Linked DNA regions of Homo sapiens: all the other regions are linked to region 4. Evidence: promoter capture Hi-C in 16 types of primary human blood cells and fetal thymus (Javierre and others, 2016). All regions are on one chromosome and are shown on one strand. The core of a region is centred on a gene start or on the middle of the fragment in contact, and the rest is flanking DNA. Distances in the headings are between cores, read along the strand shown.

Region 1 (4,273 bases), core at 780-3,279, 190 kb after region 4:
ATAGGGCCCAGAGCAGCTGCATTTCAGATGCAAATGGGAGATGCAGGAGGTGGGGAGGGGGAGGGTGTGGAAATGCCCAGGAAGCTGGTGTGCAGGTGTTAAGGATTCCAGGCATCGCTGCAACAACAGGCTCTGAAAACACAGAGCTCCCAGACAGAGCGGGCTTGAGAGTGCTTGCTTGGAGGGCTCAAGTGGACCCGCAGCTGCACTGGACATTCCTTTTTGTGGTCATCAATGGGCCCTGTATTGAAAATATGAAAGTGAGCAACTGGCACGTTCAGAGAAAGGAAACGCTTTGGAAATTGAGCAAACGCTAGGCTGAAGGGGCCACCCCTTGGCTGCCCTGATTACTTAAACCCACGTGCATGCATAAAACAGATACTGGATATAGGATACTGTGACTCCTGGGGCTGGAAGGAATCCATGGAATCATCAAACTCTTCTCTCCCATTCTATGGTGAGAAAACATGCTCCAAGGGGCGGAGCGATTTGTCCCAGGTCACACAGAGGGTTAGTGAGACAGAGAACACAAAATGGGCAACAGTGACACTTATTGAGCCCTCTCTGTCCTAGTGACTATTCAATATTATAATTTTTCAAAGTGATTTACCCAGCAGACTTATGAGCTAAGTTTTTTATTTCCATTTTTTAGTATGGGGAAATTGAGGCTTTAGTAAATTTAAAACTTGTTCCCTGAAATACTGTTAGATAGAAGGAATAAGTTCTAGTATTCAATAGTACAGTAGGATAATTACAGTTAGCAATATTTTTTGTATATTTCAAAATAGCTAGGAAAGAAGAGTTATAATGTTCCTAACACAAAGAAAAGATAAATGATGTCGGTGATGACTATTCCAGTTACCCTAACTTGGTCATTACACATTGTACGCATGTATCAAAATATCACAGGTATGCTCAAAATATGTACAACTATTACATATCAGTTTTTGAAACCTTATAAAAATAAAATAATAAAATAATAAAAACATAAATAAAATAAAAATAACAAAAAATAATACAATTTGTCCCAAGTCAAAAAGCTAATAAGTAATAATCAGGATGTGAATCTAGGTGTGTATGTTTTATTCCAAAATTCATGCTTTTTTTTCATTACACTTCATTCCTGACTCATAGGTAGTGTTTTCTTCTCAAACACAAACACACACACACACACACACACGAAAATATTATTGCATATATGTCCATAGTTTCATATTGTACATATGAAAATATTATTTCTCTTTCCATTTGTGTAAAATGTACTAAAATGTATATATATTAAAACCATGAAATATGAAACATTTTCCTTCAGACACAAACATACTACAGCACTGTCTAATACAGCTTTGAAATAGTTACTTATGGTTGGTGATAATCCCTTTCATGTAATATGTATTCAATAACTATTCGATTTTGAATTGTTCCTTTTTATTGGAAAAGGAGCATTTCATTAGAGCCAGAAACTACTGTCCACCAACATTATTATTTCTGTGACTTCCACACATTTGCATTGTGCCTGTGTTTATGAGGTGCATTTGCATGCATTAATTCAATACTTATTGAATTAATTAAGTAATTAGTTGGCAGTACCTATGTAAGAAAAGAGTAAGCAGGGCCACTAGTCCCATCTTATAGATGAGAAAACTGAGGCTCATGGAAACTAATCAATTTTCCCACACAAGGCTGATGGTGAACTCAGGTTGTCTCATGCCAGCATATTGGCAGAAGCTGTTCAGTGAGGACCATGCTGACGATAGAGATCAGAGGGAGAGAGCCATGAGAACACAAGTGCACTTATTTCCCTGCTGAAGGATGCTGTGGTCCAATGTGTAGAACTCCAGATTTGCAGACAGACAACCTGACACCCTGTGGGTGTGTGAGTGTGTGGGTGATGCTGGGAGGTGCGGGGATCACGGAGATTGTGATCTTGGTGAGGTGAGGCTCTGTGGGTGGCTTTCTTTGCACAAATGTGTCACCCTGTGTGCCTGCCTGAGGACTATGACAATGCTCATACGAATGCCTGCAAATGATCACCCATATGGGTGAATGATACCCATGACTGTGCTGGTGATATGGCCAGAGTCCTGGGTTTTTTTGGGTCCTTATGTAGTGCACTGGCTTTCAGTAGTTTTGTGATGTCAACCTGAGCTTCTGAGATCAGCCTTTCTGCAGTGTCAGTGGATCCAGAGTTCCACTCTCTCCTTGGGAAAAAATAACCCAGCAATATCTCCTACTACTTAGAGGGCCAGGAGTGTGACATGTGTATTTGAAGAATGATACAGTATAAAATCTGAGGCTGCTAGGTTTTAAGGCACCTAGATCAGATACATATTTTATAGATGAAAACACTGGAGACCAGAGAAAAAATTGCTTGATTTATTACTTTGTGCCTGTTTTTGATATTTCATGTATTCCACAAACATTTGTTGAGTAGGTATTCTGTGGAAGGACCTGCCTTCAAGGATCTGTCAGTCTAGTGGAGAGAAGCATGCATAAACAAGTCACAATGCCAATCGGTGAGCCAAGTGGACATCTGAGAGGCCCACACAGCAGAGACAGCATTTGAACCCAATCTGGAAAGATATGCAGTCTTGCCCAAGGTGGAGAAGTGTGTCGCTGTGAGAAGGAGTGGCATGTTCAGAGACCCAGGGGTGGGAAGTGTGAGATCTGATAAAAGGACTCTTGAAAGCTGGCTGAAATGTAGGGTGTGTCTCTGTATGTATGAGTTTATGGGGTGGGGTCAGCAAGCAAAGCCAGAAGATGAGGAGGTGCTGGATCATGAAAGGCTTTATACACCAGATGAAGGAGTCTAGACTGTTCCGTAGAAACTGGGAAAACCTTGAAGGATGTTAAGCAGAGGGATAGCAGAATTATAAATTAGTTTTGAACATATCATTCTGTGCACAGTCTAGAAAATGGACTGGGGTGACCCTGCAGGCAGGAAGACTGGTCTAACCTTGCTGCATGTGCAATATTTGGGGATTTCAAAGTGGTGGTGTGGGTGGAAAAGATTGTCTGGAGTCGAGGAGAGAGGCCCAGGTGGCTGTCAGGATTAGAATCCATGCACGCTGATCTCAGTCATACGGGATACTTCTTAAAAAAACACTCCATCAAAAGTGGCATTCAAGTGTGCTCTAGTGCCTGGTCTGAAAGCCTCCAGAGGAGAGAGAATGCTCAGCATTTGTTCTGGAAGACATCCCTGGGTAGGCAGGGAGTTCCCCACGAGATGAGGTGGAGGGAGTCATGGAGAAGCACTCAGGCCCCTGTTCACTTGCACCGTTTCAGAGCCAGGAACCAGCTAGGGCCAACCCCTTTTTATTTTGGAGTCATCCTTCATCAGATATAGTGTTAACTCACTTCCTTTTTAGCCCCTACCCCGTTCCTACCACCACCACCTCCTTGCTTTAGTCACTGGAGCTGAGTCATCCTTCGAGCCTATTCCTGTCTCCCCGCACTGTGTCAGGGTGAAAGGGTTTGAGCATGAGCCACTGGGCATGGACATTCCCATCTGCTGGACAATCTCTGTGACTTCAGGAAAGAAGAGAGAAAAGGAGCTGATGTAGCCTGGGTACCTCCTGTGTGCCACGCCAATGCCAGACTCATCAACATTTATGTCTTGTCACAATTGTCTTAGGCAGTGGTGTTATCCTCAGATGGGGAACATGAGGCTCAGTGAGGTTCAGTCATTTTCCCAAGGCCACACAGACCTGAAGGATTTCAAAGTTTACACTATTTCCAATATATTACTTTGCCTCTTTACATCATCTCTGGGAAAGGATGGCATTTGATTCAACTCACAGTTTAGTACCTACTATGTGCAACACACTGTGCCAGAGGGGTTAATAGAGGGTTCCTGCTGTCAAGGAGCTCAGCATCTCATGATGGAAACCTTTGATCCTTAGATTTATTCACTCAATATTATTTGAGTACTACCTACAGGCAGAGCCCTCTTGGGGGATATGGAGATAAATAACCCAGGATCTCAGCCCTGGCACACAATAGCACTGAGCACAGGATGCTGTGGGAAAACAGAGGAAAGGATATTTAATAGTCTATGAAGAATTCAAGGAAGACATTGCAGAGCTACTTTTAGACTGACATTGAAGAGTGAGTGTTTTGATAGACAAAGAATCTGGGACAGGAAAACCAGCGCTGTAGAAACTACAAGCACACTGAAGGGAAGTACAAGAAACATCAGGTATAAATAGAGAGTGGGAGTGGCTGGCAGATGATGGGTAGTTGTTGAGCAGTTGAAAGAAGCTTTGAAAGCCCC
Region 2 (3,839 bases), core at 872-3,371, 210 kb after region 4:
TCAAAGCCAAATAGGATTTTGCTGTCCTCAAAACTCTTGCACTTGCATTCTTTCCTTTGATCTCACAATAGCCCTGGAAGCAGGCAAAACCAGGGCTCTTCCCATATTGTAGACAAAGAAACTGAGATTCAGAAATGGCAGGTGACTTGTGCAAGGTCACACAGATGGGACTGCAACTGCCTGATCTAAGATTCTGACTCCATTTTCATGCTGTGCTGGATTCCACTGTGCTTGCTGATCTCTCAAGTCATCAGATTTGAAAAGAACATTACTAAGGATGTTAGAACTACATTTTAGGGCTCAGGGATGTCCATAAAAATAAGAATTTCCATCTCTGAATTATTAGAGCAGACACTTGTGGCTGAATGTTACAACTTGAGTCCCATATGTCAAGAAGGCTTGCAAAGTTCATTATAGGGTCCTAAGCCTCCAGAGAAGTTTCCAGTAGTATGTTGACTTGCATAAAAGGGAGAGACAGTGGTGGGCATCTTTTCCTCACTCCATGGTTATTGATGTCACATTGAGAGCTTGAATGTGCCATGGTGCAAGTATTTATACCACAGAAATCAGCAAAACCTATAATTCAGGGCTTTCTCACCACTGTAGAACCAGTTAAACATTTTCCAGCTTATAGCTCATGGTGACTGCACAAATTAGAGTCTGAAAATTCTCCTCTGTCACCTGCGTGGCACAGGCGTTGATTTTGCCTCTAACCACAAGTCATACCCCAGTGCCCATCTTTAAATGGGAGACTCCTTTTATCTGAGCTTGCAAAATCAGATTCATGGGTTTCTACTAATAGTCCCTTGCATTTGTGTAGTTTGTAACGTGTTTTCACATCCCTCATCACTTCTGAACTGGGTATAATCTATTGGGCAGATGTCATCTACCCTTGGTAGGACAGAAGGGCCTGGAGATCTGACAGGTAATGTGACCACTCTCAGTGTCATAGGCCTGTAAGTGGCAGCCAGGGACTTGAACTGGGTCTTCACCTCCTTGTTCTGTGCTCCTTTCCTTTGTACTAGCTACCTTCACCTAGGACACTTGCAATGTCTGGAGATGAAGCCACTGTCTAGGGCGCAGAGAAGAGTTGCCTAGCAGCAGTGTAACATTGGAGTGTGACTTAGCCATTGACAGAAAAGAACAGACATGCTAGCTTGAGAGTATCCACACTTAACTGCTAGTCCCACTTTACTGATCCAATGCAAGGAAAGAAGTCTACTTTCACTTCTCCTCTGTCTTCCATCTTCTCTTTGTTTTTTTTTTTAAAAAAAAAATAACTTTTATGGGTACTTTGTGTCTTTAGGTCCTGCTGAGGGTTCTGAGCACAACAGATATTTGGAGTCTCCTGAATGATGTAGCAGTAATGCCCTGTTCCGCCTGTTGCATAACTCCCAGCCTCATACTGCCTGGTGATGGAATTATTGATTGTTAAGCATTTCACAACACATTTTCAAAACATGCTGAAGGTCAAGAATGGATGACTCATAGGCAGTAACAGTTCCTTCTGCCTCAGTCCCTCTACATGATATTGGTGAGGTTGGTAATGAAAGTCATTGAAGAAATTGAGGCAAAAGTTAACTCTGTCCAATCCTGGCCAGCAGGATTATTAAGTAACTTGAAAAAAATAATTCCTGATACTCTATTTATTTAGTGATTGATCTTCTAAATCAGTTTGTTTTGTTGTTGTTGTTTGATTGATTGATTTTTTTGAGACAGTCTTGCTTTGTCACCCAGGCTGGAGTGCAGTGGCATGATCTCAGCTCACCGCAACCTCTGCCTCCCGGTTCAAGTGTTTCTCCTGCCTCAGCCCCCCAAGTAGCTGGGACTACAGGTGTGTGCCACCATACCCAGAAAATTTTGTATTTTTAGTAGAGATGGAGTTTTGCCATGTTGGCCAGGCTGGTCTTGAACTGGCCTCAAGCAATCCACCTGCCTCAGCCTCCCAAAGTGCTGGGATTATAGGCGTGAGCCACCATGCCTGGCTTCACTTTGTTTTTTAATACCAAGTCTCATAAATAGTATAAAGTGGGAGTTAAGGGATTTCAGTGCTGATTTTGCCACTAACTTGTTCAAAAGCACCAGAGAGTACCACTGAGGTACTCAGCTGAGGAAAAACACTTAAATGATATCTAGGGAACTTTACTGCTCTGACAGTCTGTGATTGTACATTAGTACTTTAGACAGCAGAGAGATAAACCCTGATTCCGGTTTACAGATAATTACTCATCTCTCTGCCTGAGGCCAAGAAAAGCCCTCTGTGGAGCAGTGTGGAAGAATGCCTTAGAGCACAGTAGCAGAGAGTTCCAGACCCGGAGGCAAGGGGATCTGGGTTAACTCTCAACGTTGCCAACTGTGATTTGAATCTTCTGACAGGGTGCTGGGCCTGCTAGCATCTCAGTTTTCTCACCTGTAAAATGGAGACAATAACAGTGTGTGAGCTTTTTTTGGTACAAACGTTAATGCATGAAAAGACCTACAACATGTTTCCGCATGGGCTAGTTGAAAGTTTTGGAGGAAAAAATATCAAGCTGATAATTTTTAAATTTTTTTTTTTGTTTTGAGGCAGAGTCTTGCTCTGTCACCCAGGCTGGAGGACAGTTCCACGATCTTGGCTCACTGCAACCCCCGCCTGCTGGGTTCAAGTGAATCTCATGCCTCAGCCTTCCCAGTAGCTGGGACTACAGGTGCGTGCTACCATGCCCGGCTAATTTTTGCATTTTTAGTAGAGATGGGGTTTCACCATTTTGGCCAGGCTGGTCTCGAACTCCTAACCTTAGGTGATTCACCCCCTCCTCGGCCTCCCAAAGTGCTGGGATTACAGGTGTGAGCCACCTCGCCCAGCCGTAAAATTCTTAATATGTAAGTATTTTCTTCAAAAATGAATCTAATTTGCATAACTAAAGTTTCTGAATGCTTTATCTAGAATAATCATGGGACTGGAAGTTTCTTAATAGTTCTTCTCTAGGTTTTTGCACTTTAAATACCCTGCAGGTCTTTTCATTCTAATATAACATAATCACAGTAATAAGAAGTGTGACAAAGCTCTAGTAGTTCATGGTGCCTGTGCCTCATTCACTCGTCAGCGAAGCCTCCCTCAGCATCCCCTCCCCACATCCATCCCTGCACACTGCACCCTCTCCAAGCTGCTGCCAGCCGTGCTGCTCCCCTGCCTCCTTACTGGAGTGCAAGCCAGTAAAAAAGGAAGCAAATTCGGTTATGTAAAGCACATTCTGGGTAAGGAAAGGCAAGCATGTGTTTCTGCTTGACTGAAATTGGTTTTTTTTTTTCCCCACCAGTTTGTCCTCTTATCGGGATACGTCAGAAATTAGAGAGACCCTGGCAATCACAGCTTCCACCTCCTCATTTTACAAATGAGCAACTAGGCTCAGAGTACAGAAGTGGCTTTCCCAGGGTCACACAGCCAGCTTGTGACAGAGTCAGGATTCAAGTACCATCTCCTGACTTCTCCATTGCACCAGACGTCGATAGAACACAGAGAACCTAAAAGAAGAAAGAAAAAAAAATAGAGCTTTTGGGAATATATTGGGCTTCTGGTTTTCAAGGACAATTTTATGATAAGTAGCAATGATGCCTCAAAAGCTCTGGTAGCTAGCTTGAATGAACTTATGTAATAAACATTTATCACAGAACATGTGTCATCAAACACCTGCCAGTTCTGAGCGTTGGCACCAAAGCTGCTTTCATTGTCAAAGAAAAGAGGGGGAAAGGAACTTGGCTGAACAAAGCTGGCAGACGTTTATACTAGAAAATTTAGAGGTAATTTCTAGAGGAACAGAAACACATTTTCAAAGTCTTATAAAATTTATTTAAATGTG
Region 3 (4,411 bases), core at 480-2,979, 240 kb after region 4:
TGTCTCAGCACAACCTCAGTTTCACTTCCTGCCTCAAAACACAGAGAGTCATTATATAAATATCAACCTCAGCAGCTGCTGCCCTCATCCCTCTTCTCACTATTACTCCCGAAGCTCAGCTCACAGCCAAGGCGCCTGCCAGGCCTCTCACTTTCCCCTGATCCCACGGCACTTGCACCAGGCCCGCCAGGTGGGTGCCTGGGGCAGAAATGAATCACAACTGCTCTCTGGCCCTCCAGCCAGCCATACCCAGCAGCCCTTGCGTCGCTGAGCAGGGGAGGTCGTCCTGACTGGTAGCCCACGTTAATCAAATTAAACCTTGTTCACAGACGTGACAGGCAGTCAGCCCATCCGTGGAGGCCGCAGAATGCACCGTCAGCACTCATTGCTGCTAGAGGTGGGGCAGGAAAGAACGCAGCATGTTTATATGTATATATCATAAAATGTTCTATTAAATTAGCTAAAATCACCAAAACTTTCAAAGGTGTTTTAAGTCAGGAAGCAGTGTGGTAGGTATAAAGAGTGGTCTGGAATGAAAGACCAAGAATGTGTTAGTCTCTCTAGTATGAATGAGTAAAATCTTTTTCTAATCTCCAATCATAAGAACTCCTCTTTGAACTTTGGTTCATTTTTCTTTATTTTCTTTCTAAAGATGTTACTAAAAGAACAAACAAACAAAGAAACAAAAACCCAAAAGGCAGGCCTGTCACATGATCTCCCTGATCCTCAAGTTTTTCATCTTTAAAATAATGACATGAACCTGCTTCTCTTCCAGGGTTGTGCAAGGAACATGAGATATGTGAGGTTTCCTTCTCTGCCTATTGATCACAATGGTTGACATGTTACTCTGTGTGTGTGTGTGTGTGTGTGTGTGTGTGTGTTATAAGAGAGGTTAGCAAAATGTAAGCTGTTATTCCGAGCTATTATAATTACTGATACCTTAACCATGTTGCAGCCATGGTCATGTTAGAAGCGGAAGAGCCCGGGCAAGGACTGGTAATATGGCTTCTCTGGGTCCTTAAAACAGTCAATGGAAAGCAATGTTTGGGAATCTCATCACCTGTGTGTTACTCAACTGATCAAACATTGTTAAAATATGCTCATTCTCCCACTTGATCAACTTGCGACCTAATTAGATATTTGTGATTTATTATTAAGCAACAAAAACAAATTACTAAGCAGTTTTTCAGTGCAAATCCATTAAAAATTTATTTATAAGCTTTAGAAAAAAGATTTTAAAAAGATGATGGATATTCACCAAAATGTTAACTACTGGCAATCTCTGGGAGGAGGAATTTGCATGGCTTAAATGTCTTTCTTTGTACTTTTTAAAATCACCCAAATTGGACAGGATTAACATCAGAAAAATTGACCCCTCAAGGAACACAGAGGTTAAGTGCTGTTAGCTTTTCCTTTTCCCTAAACACACATGTTGGTGTCAAATGAAGGGAAATTCAAGGTGAGAGAGCCAAAGCAGGCCACCGGGGGGTCCAAGTAAAGACTTTTTACTGAATGAGGGTCTAGAATTATTTATTTATTTTATTTTTATTTATTCATTTTTTTTGAGATGGAGTCTCGCTCTGTCCCCCAGGCTGGAGTGCAGTGGCGCAATCTCAGCTCACTGCAAGCTCCGCCTCCTGGGTTCATGCCATTCTCCTGCCTCAGCCTCCCCAGTAGCTGGGACTACAGGCGCCCAACACCACGCCCAGCTAACTTTTTTGTATTTTTTAGTAGAGATGGGGTTTCACCATGTTAGTCAGGATAGTCTCGATCTCCTGACCTCATGATTCGCCCACCTCGGCATCCCAAAGTGCTGGGATTACAGGTGTGAGCCACCGCGCCCGGCCGAGTTATTTGTTTTTTAAAATCTGTTTTTCAAGAGAGAGTGATTGATTTCTATGTTTGTCAGTCTTTCAACCATTCATCCTGTAATCATTTACTCACTTGGTAATCAAAGTTATTGGGTGGTTACGTAGGACAGAAAAAGGGCATGAATTAGCTGTCCAATGATCAGGGTTCAAGTTCTGCTACCATTTTTCTGAAGCCGTGAGCCCTTTGTCCATTTGAGCAACATGAGGCTCACTCATATGTAAAGTGGGGCTCATGGTGAACATGAAAGCTCTGAGAACTCCACAGTGCTGGGTAGAGAAGGAGTTTCTGTGACATGCAAGCCACTGAGCTAGAAATCTGAGATAGAAAGATAAGCCATTGATACAGCCTGTGCTCTCAAGAAGCTTACACTTGACTGGTCTGCTGGCTTAATGCTGAATCCAGCAGTATGGGGCACACAAAGAATCTCTTAGGTGGAATCTAGGAATCCTGGGTTTGGGGTCAATCTGAGCCACTGACAGGTTGTGTGACCATGAACCACTCACGTTCCCCCTCTGACTCTCGGATTTCTATCTGTCCCATGAAAGAATTATTAAGCCTGATGATCTCCAAGGCATTTTCTAGCTTAGACATTCTATGGAATGAGTGAAAATCAGGCAAAATTTGAAACATGTTAAAATATCCATCATGAGCCCATATGTGTCATATGCTGGTTCCTATTTGAAGAGCAAGGACATGGGAACATTTTCGGCTTGAGGCAGTACTGGCATTCCAAGAGGCAGTTCCTGGCTCTGTCAGTGCTGTTCTTCAGCTGGAAGCTCTGTTTCTCTGCTTAGCTTCTGTCACATCATGATAGAGAGAGAGTCTTATCGAAGAAGACTAGGAATACACTTGTGAATCGTGAATAAACATGATGGGTATTGAATATTTGCATGCATTTTTGTCATGTTTATTGGCTGTTTCTCGAACCTTACTATGAGTCTGAATGGGGGAGGCAGAGAGTATGAGCAGTGGGAGCCCAGCATAGAAATCCTAAGTTCAAGGTTTGGCACCGGCTCAGCAGGTGACTATCAAGGTGACATTCATTAATTCATTCACTTGTTTACTTAATCGGGAACCATCTATGGAGCATCTACTATGTGTGTTAGGCCCTGGGTTAGACATTTGAGATGTTAAGATGAGTAGGGTGTAGTTTACCGGACGGTGTGCTTTTTGAAAGCAAGTGCCTGATCCTTATTTCTTCATTGCTTGAACATGGCCCTGCCCTGAGGAGCACATAAATTAGCAAAGTCTCTGGGCAAGTAGTTTATTTTCCTAGAACTCAGTGTTCATTCCTCCTTAAGATGGTTTTGGAATTGGACTTAATGATCTCCAAAATTCCTTCTAGCTTGGATGTTCTGTTCTGCAGTTACCTAATATCTCGCAATGAGAAAGGTTTGCGTCCAGCGATGGAGGAAAGGTCACAGAACAATCTGCAGCAGGTGAAATGAAACCGCAGAGCCTCCAGAGAGCACATGAACCAGTAAGTCCCTCCTCACCTGAGAAGGCTATGAGACTAAGCCTGGTCTGGAAATGCAAATAACATGCTCGAGTACAGCAAGAACAACAGCACTGGCTTTGGGTTTTGGTGCAACGATAGGGGACCCTTAAGGCAGAAATGAGGCTTACCTGGTGACATGCTGGACAGTGCTGTACCATCCCACTGGTTCAGAATGGAGGAAAAACGTTGAAGCTGGTCATACTCTGGATAGAAAACCAGTCTCTGGGCTCCTGTCCCTCTGCCCTCCCCCTGCTTTACCTGTGTCACCAAAACTCTCCGGGGACAGCAACACCTACCTCCCATGCCACCGTGATGATTAAATGTGAAAACACATATGAAAGGTCTTCGTAAACTCTAAAGTGCTTTATACATGGAAAATAGAATTAATATCTGTGGAGGAGGGAGAAATAGAGGGGCACCTTGAAGAATGAATAGGTGCTACGTAAGTGGAGAGCTGTGTGCCTGCCTGTCAAGGAAGTAAGCACTTTATAAAAGTCAACTCATAACGTCAGGCAGGGACTATTATTATTCCCATTCTACAGATGAGGAAACTGAATTCCAAAAAGTTTAAGTAACTTGATCAAGGCCACCTCGTTGGTAAATAGTAAAGTTTGGACTCACACCGAGGAAGTCTGGCTACAAAATTTGTGCTCTTAACCAATATGCTCTTCTGCCTCCCTCATTGAAAAAAAAAATGTTTGTAATTCAATTTGATTCCAATCAATACATGGCTTGAGTGCCAGACTGGGCACTGGCTGTGTAATGATGAAGACAGTCCATGCTCTCCAGAAGCATAAGCAAATAAGAAAATACTCCAAAGAATAAGGAAATAAGATACTACAAATATGACTGGCACTGGAATAATGTAAAGAAGAATGTGGAAATGGAAAAGAGGAGGAGTGTTCCAGTGGCCGTGCATTTAACAGAGTAGAGAACCAAGCGGGTGGATAAAGAGCAGTTCAAGGTGAGGCTGAAAAGGTGATGTTCTGGAGCCTGATGGTGGAGGGTCCAGAGTGCCAGGCTAAAGTGACAGGGTGTTAG
Region 4 (4,301 bases), core at 1,160-3,659:
ACCTTAGAAAATAATCATAGGTGCAGACAAAGAATTTTGTTAAGAAGGATGTTCGTCACAGTGCTATTTATAATGATGAAAAATTAGAATTATGGTATATTCTTAAGATGAAACAGCATACAGCCATTCAAAATTACATGTACAAACAATTCTTAATGCCATGAGAAGCTGCTTGTGCTGTATTGTTAGGTGAAGTGGCAAGATATGAAAATGTTTATATAGTAATATTTAGTCAGTAAAATGCAAATGCACATAAAATCATGAAAAGCACCACTAAAGAAAGAATATTAGAAACGTAAACAATGCTTGTGTCTAAATAGTGATTTATGAGTGATGCTCATTTTCTTTATACGGTTCCATATTTTTGAAATGTGTTACTATGACTAGGTCCTACACTTATAACACAAAAATACCACACATAGTAAGTTCAGGTTTGTTTTTGCCTTAAGTCTTCTTGAGGGAATATAAGGAGGTTCAAGAAAGAGGAGACAGAACATTCCCCAGACAGAAACAAAGGGGAAGGGCCCTTGGGCCATCAGGGCAGCATGTGCTAAGACACAGAGGCTGCAAGAGAGTGGGACCAGGGACACACTCAGAGTAGCAAGCACAGAGCATGACTGGCAGGGGACAGCCATAGCAAATCCTGGAAACAGAGGTGAGGTCAGACGAGAGCAGGGCAAGGTGGGCACGGTGAGGGATTCTGCCCACAGGCTACGGGAGGCAGTGAGTGAGAAGGCAAGAAGCCAGCTGGGAAGCCGAAGGACAAATGCCTTCCCAGACACCTTAAATAAAAGCAGAGTCAGGGAGCGCGGAAGCCCACGCCAGGGAGAGCAGGAAGATAGTTAAGTGTCTTACACTCATTGCCATTTACAAAATGGTTCTCCTTAATTTTCTTCAAACAAGGCTATGCATATATTGGTGTCTGGAAATGAAATTAATTAGTAAATCAAATCAATACATTCTTATTGGCCAAGCATCACTCACGATCCCTTCTGACTTCATCCTAAAAGTGGACCCAACCAACAACCCCCTATGTTGCTTCACAAGTAATTTCTGACCAGTCAGGCACAGATGCCATGCAAAAGACAAGGCCTCAAGGTGCCATTATCTGTCAAATGGACCCAAGGCAGGATGAGGCTGAATGAAAGAGGAGGAAGAGGAAGAAAGGCTCACTCAGGGGGAGAGGGGAAGCTGCTGCAAGCTAACTACTGCTCTCACTGACTCAGGATGCCCATTTCTCACAACCAGAGGCCACAGTTTTGGAGCAGACAAGAGACTGCAGAGAGGCTTGCTGAAGCTCACTCCACGGCTGGATTCCTGGCAGGATGAGAAATGGAGTTCTAGTAAACTAGAAGGAATGCTGCTGGCAGGAGACAGACCTCTCGAGAGGGCTTTAAATGGAAATATGAGAGCACGAGAGGAACTCTAAGTGTAGAAAATGCACTGGGCAAACAAGCGTGTCGCAGATGTGGGCGCCCCAGAAGGGAAGGAGCTCTGGAGTCACAGGGGACCCAAAGGACAGAATGTCAGGTGGCCCTCCAAGCCCGCAGGTGGCAATGGGAACAAGGCGGGAAATGAACTGGAGAGCTGAAGGCGGGGGCCTAGGAGGAGGCCGCAGAGCTGTGATGAAGGGCTGCTCATCAGAGGCACATGCACGGGTCAGATAAAGAAGCTCCGCTGCGAAGACAGGGGGCAATGCAAGGCCACAGCCGAAGATTCCATGCATGCTCTTCACGGTGGCAAATTCAAAAGCCTTGGAGGGCAGCATGCTTCTATGATAATAGGGAATGGGGGCCGGGGGGAATATGTAGACCCCATATCAATGCTCTCAAAACCTCTCTCTCTCTCTCTCTCTCTGTCTCTCTCCCTCCCTCTCTCTTGCTCACTCTCTCTCTCTCTCTCTCTCTCTCTCTGTCTCTCTCCCTCCCTCTCTCTTGCTCACTCTCTCTCTCTCTCTTTGTCGTGCTCTCTCTCTCCCTCTCTCTCCCACTCCCCACCTCTGGCCTAATATACCTGCATGTCCACAGAGGCACCAATCTGCAATGATGATGGACTCTCTCACCCACCCTGCTACTAGGAAACTTCTTCCATATATCATAAACAGAGACCAGTATTACAATACTTCACCCACTGCGCCAATTTGGCTTTCATGTCTGTTTCCTGTGTCGATCACAACATCCTAGACAGCCCAAACAAGGCTTTATTCACCTCTAGTCCCCGGTCCCTGGAACAGCAGACAATAAATAAGGAATCAACAAGTGTCCTTCACTGCCGCACACATTGGCTGTGAATATCCTTTTGCAAAGTGCAGAACATCTGAAAGATTCTCACATTGACTAAACAACAGTGTGACCTGAAGTTAAGAGAACCATAAAGGTAAATGATTGCTAGAAGTTTAATTCCAAACAAGGAAGAGCAATTTGATGCAATGGGCAGAAGACAAACATTGGGAGAATGAGAACGTATCCTCTTGAGTTGTGATGTGAACAAACAGAGATTCCAAGATCTTGCAAAAGCGAACAGTCAGCAACCAGCATGGTGCTTAGAGTAGTCCCTGGGCAACAGAAAAAAAACAGATAAATGAAGAAACATGGACAATCACCCTACCTGGGTCTCAGCGTGAGGAGGAGAACTAGGACTTCCAGACAGAAAAGAGGAGAAGCATGAGGAGGGGGCTGGGAAAGACATTTCCCTGTGGGCATGTGGTGCCCTCCACTGGGGCCAGAATTCCCAACCTGCCTCACTCTCCCCATCTGTGAAATTGGCTGATTCCCTGAGGTCCCTCCCAGCACTGACTATCAAGTGACAGAGAACCTAGAAACTCCAGGAGCTCCATCAGAGCCCTGACTACCTGTCCAAGTGAGACTGTGGGAGCCTCACTCTTCTCACACCTGTAAACTGAGGGTGCTGCAGTGTCAGCTATATCAACACTCCCAAGTATGCCTTTGCCAAAACCTCTATGGATGAGAAAGGAAAAGAGCATGTATGGAATTGGCCAGGGCTTAGAACCATCTTGAACATGACACACTTATGCACATCGTCACATCTTCCCAGCATCCCTGTCCCACCTCGGGCAGCAACTGTCAAAGTTCTGCCCCCAGGATGACCTCCCAGAGTCCTCAGGGCAGCTCCATCTCTCCAGCCCTCATTCCTTTCCAGCTCTTTGGTGTTTCCCTGTAATAAAAACACTGTGCACTTCTCTTTTCATGTTTTAACCATGAAGTGCCTTCCTCCAGACAAGTACTTTAATCCTTACTCCAGTCAGAATAGGTAACATCAGCATAATTACCATCATTACTCCCATTTTACAGAGGAGAGGGCTGAGGCTCACGTAAGACCTAATCTTCATCTTCCCAGGGATCCTCCAACTCCTAGCCAGGCCTCTCCCAGCTCCTAAATCAATCATGAAAGACTACAGCAATCACATCCAGTACTTTTCTGATCTAGTGTCTTTGCCGCTAAATAAAGGCAGAAATCAAGGTGGCAGGATCAATCCTGTATTCAAATCACTGTACTGTCTGCCACCCTCCTATGCTGGTCCAGGGAGCAGAACTGAAAATGTGCCTCAAGGCCCCAATCCAAAACAGATGCCATCACCCTGGACAGATTCTCCAACCATGCTCCAAGACTGGTATCCATCTCACTTCAACCAGCCCTCCTTCCCAGGCCTGGGTCTGTCTACTGGCACAGGGGGACCCTGCCATGAAAATGAGGGCATCTCTACTGGATTGCAGGCGATCCCCTCGCTGGGCTGGCCCACCCATTCAACCATCACTGGACCACCCCCAGGCCTGCTACCCCTTCAGACACTCAGCCTCATACTGCCTAGCTCTTTCTACCAGGTCTCTCCCTCAGATCAATTCCACCTCAGCCCCAAACTTGCCATCTCCTAAGCAGATTTATACTTCTTCCCAATTTCTATCCTTCCTCTAGCTCATTACTGCTTTCCTGTTGCTTAAGCTAAGTCTATTTCAAATTATAGCTCAGAGAGGGCAGGTGACTTGTTCAAGACTACACAGCCATTTAGTGGCAAAGCTGGGGCTTGAACCCAGCTCTCCCAATTCTAAGCCTTGTGTTTTTCCACTAAATCTCAGCTGTCTCTCTCTATCATACTGCTCAAGAAGCCACTGGTGCATGAGAGGGTGCAGACCACATCTTATTCTCTTTAGTAATGTGTACACTAAGGGCCAGGTATATGTTCAGTGACTTCTTGCAGTCCTAGGAGGTATGACTGTCTTTGTTTACAGATGAGAAAATGTTTTCAGACTACTGCACTGCTATACCACTAGTCTAAATACAGT

Evidence for each region. The method cuts DNA at HindIII sites, captures the fragments that hold promoters and counts their contacts. A CHiCAGO score of 5 or more calls a contact.
Region 1: a contact is called between a fragment that was not itself captured here and the fragment with the promoter of FLJ42393 in region 4, in 2 of 17 cell types (fetal thymus and activated CD4 T cells). The highest score is 7.9, in fetal thymus.
Region 2: a contact is called between a fragment that was not itself captured here and the fragment with the promoter of FLJ42393 in region 4, in 1 of 17 cell types (fetal thymus). The highest score is 5.0, in fetal thymus.
Region 3: a fragment that was not itself captured here is called in contact with the fragment with the promoter of FLJ42393 in region 4 in 1 of 17 cell types (fetal thymus); the score reaches 5.1 in fetal thymus.

Annotation. Positions count from the first base shown.
Region 1 is chr3:187,985,800-187,990,072 of GRCh38, reverse strand. No RefSeq gene overlaps it. Among named protein-coding and RNA genes, the nearest start is that of LINC01991, 12 kb to the right of the region's middle. RefSeq lists enhancers at 1-277, 3,238-3,532. The HindIII fragment of the contact is 4,467 bases long and covers 1-4,262 here.
Region 2 is chr3:187,966,670-187,970,508 of GRCh38, reverse strand. It overlaps LINC01991 (long intergenic non-protein coding RNA 1991), which reads left to right. Exons shown (of 3, transcript NR_135538.1): 2 at 3,300-3,780. Among named protein-coding and RNA genes, the nearest start is that of LINC01991, 7.8 kb to the left of the region's middle. The HindIII fragment of the contact is 6,666 bases long and covers 1-3,839 here.
Region 3 is chr3:187,931,639-187,936,049 of GRCh38, reverse strand. It overlaps LOC105374265 (a long non-coding RNA gene), which reads left to right and starts at 2,825. Exons shown (of 2, transcript XR_924814.1): 1 at 2,825-2,905; 2 at 3,218-4,411. RefSeq lists an enhancer at 3,442-3,491. The HindIII fragment of the contact is 1,015 bases long and covers 1,222-2,236 here.
Region 4 is chr3:188,176,651-188,180,951 of GRCh38, reverse strand. It overlaps FLJ42393 (a long non-coding RNA gene), which reads right to left and starts at 2,409. Exons shown (of 1, transcript NR_024413.1): 1 at 144-2,409. The region is part of intron 1 of LPP (LIM domain containing preferred translocation partner in lipoma); the gene reads right to left. RefSeq lists an enhancer at 1,033-1,645. The HindIII fragment of the contact is 11,595 bases long and covers 1-4,301 here.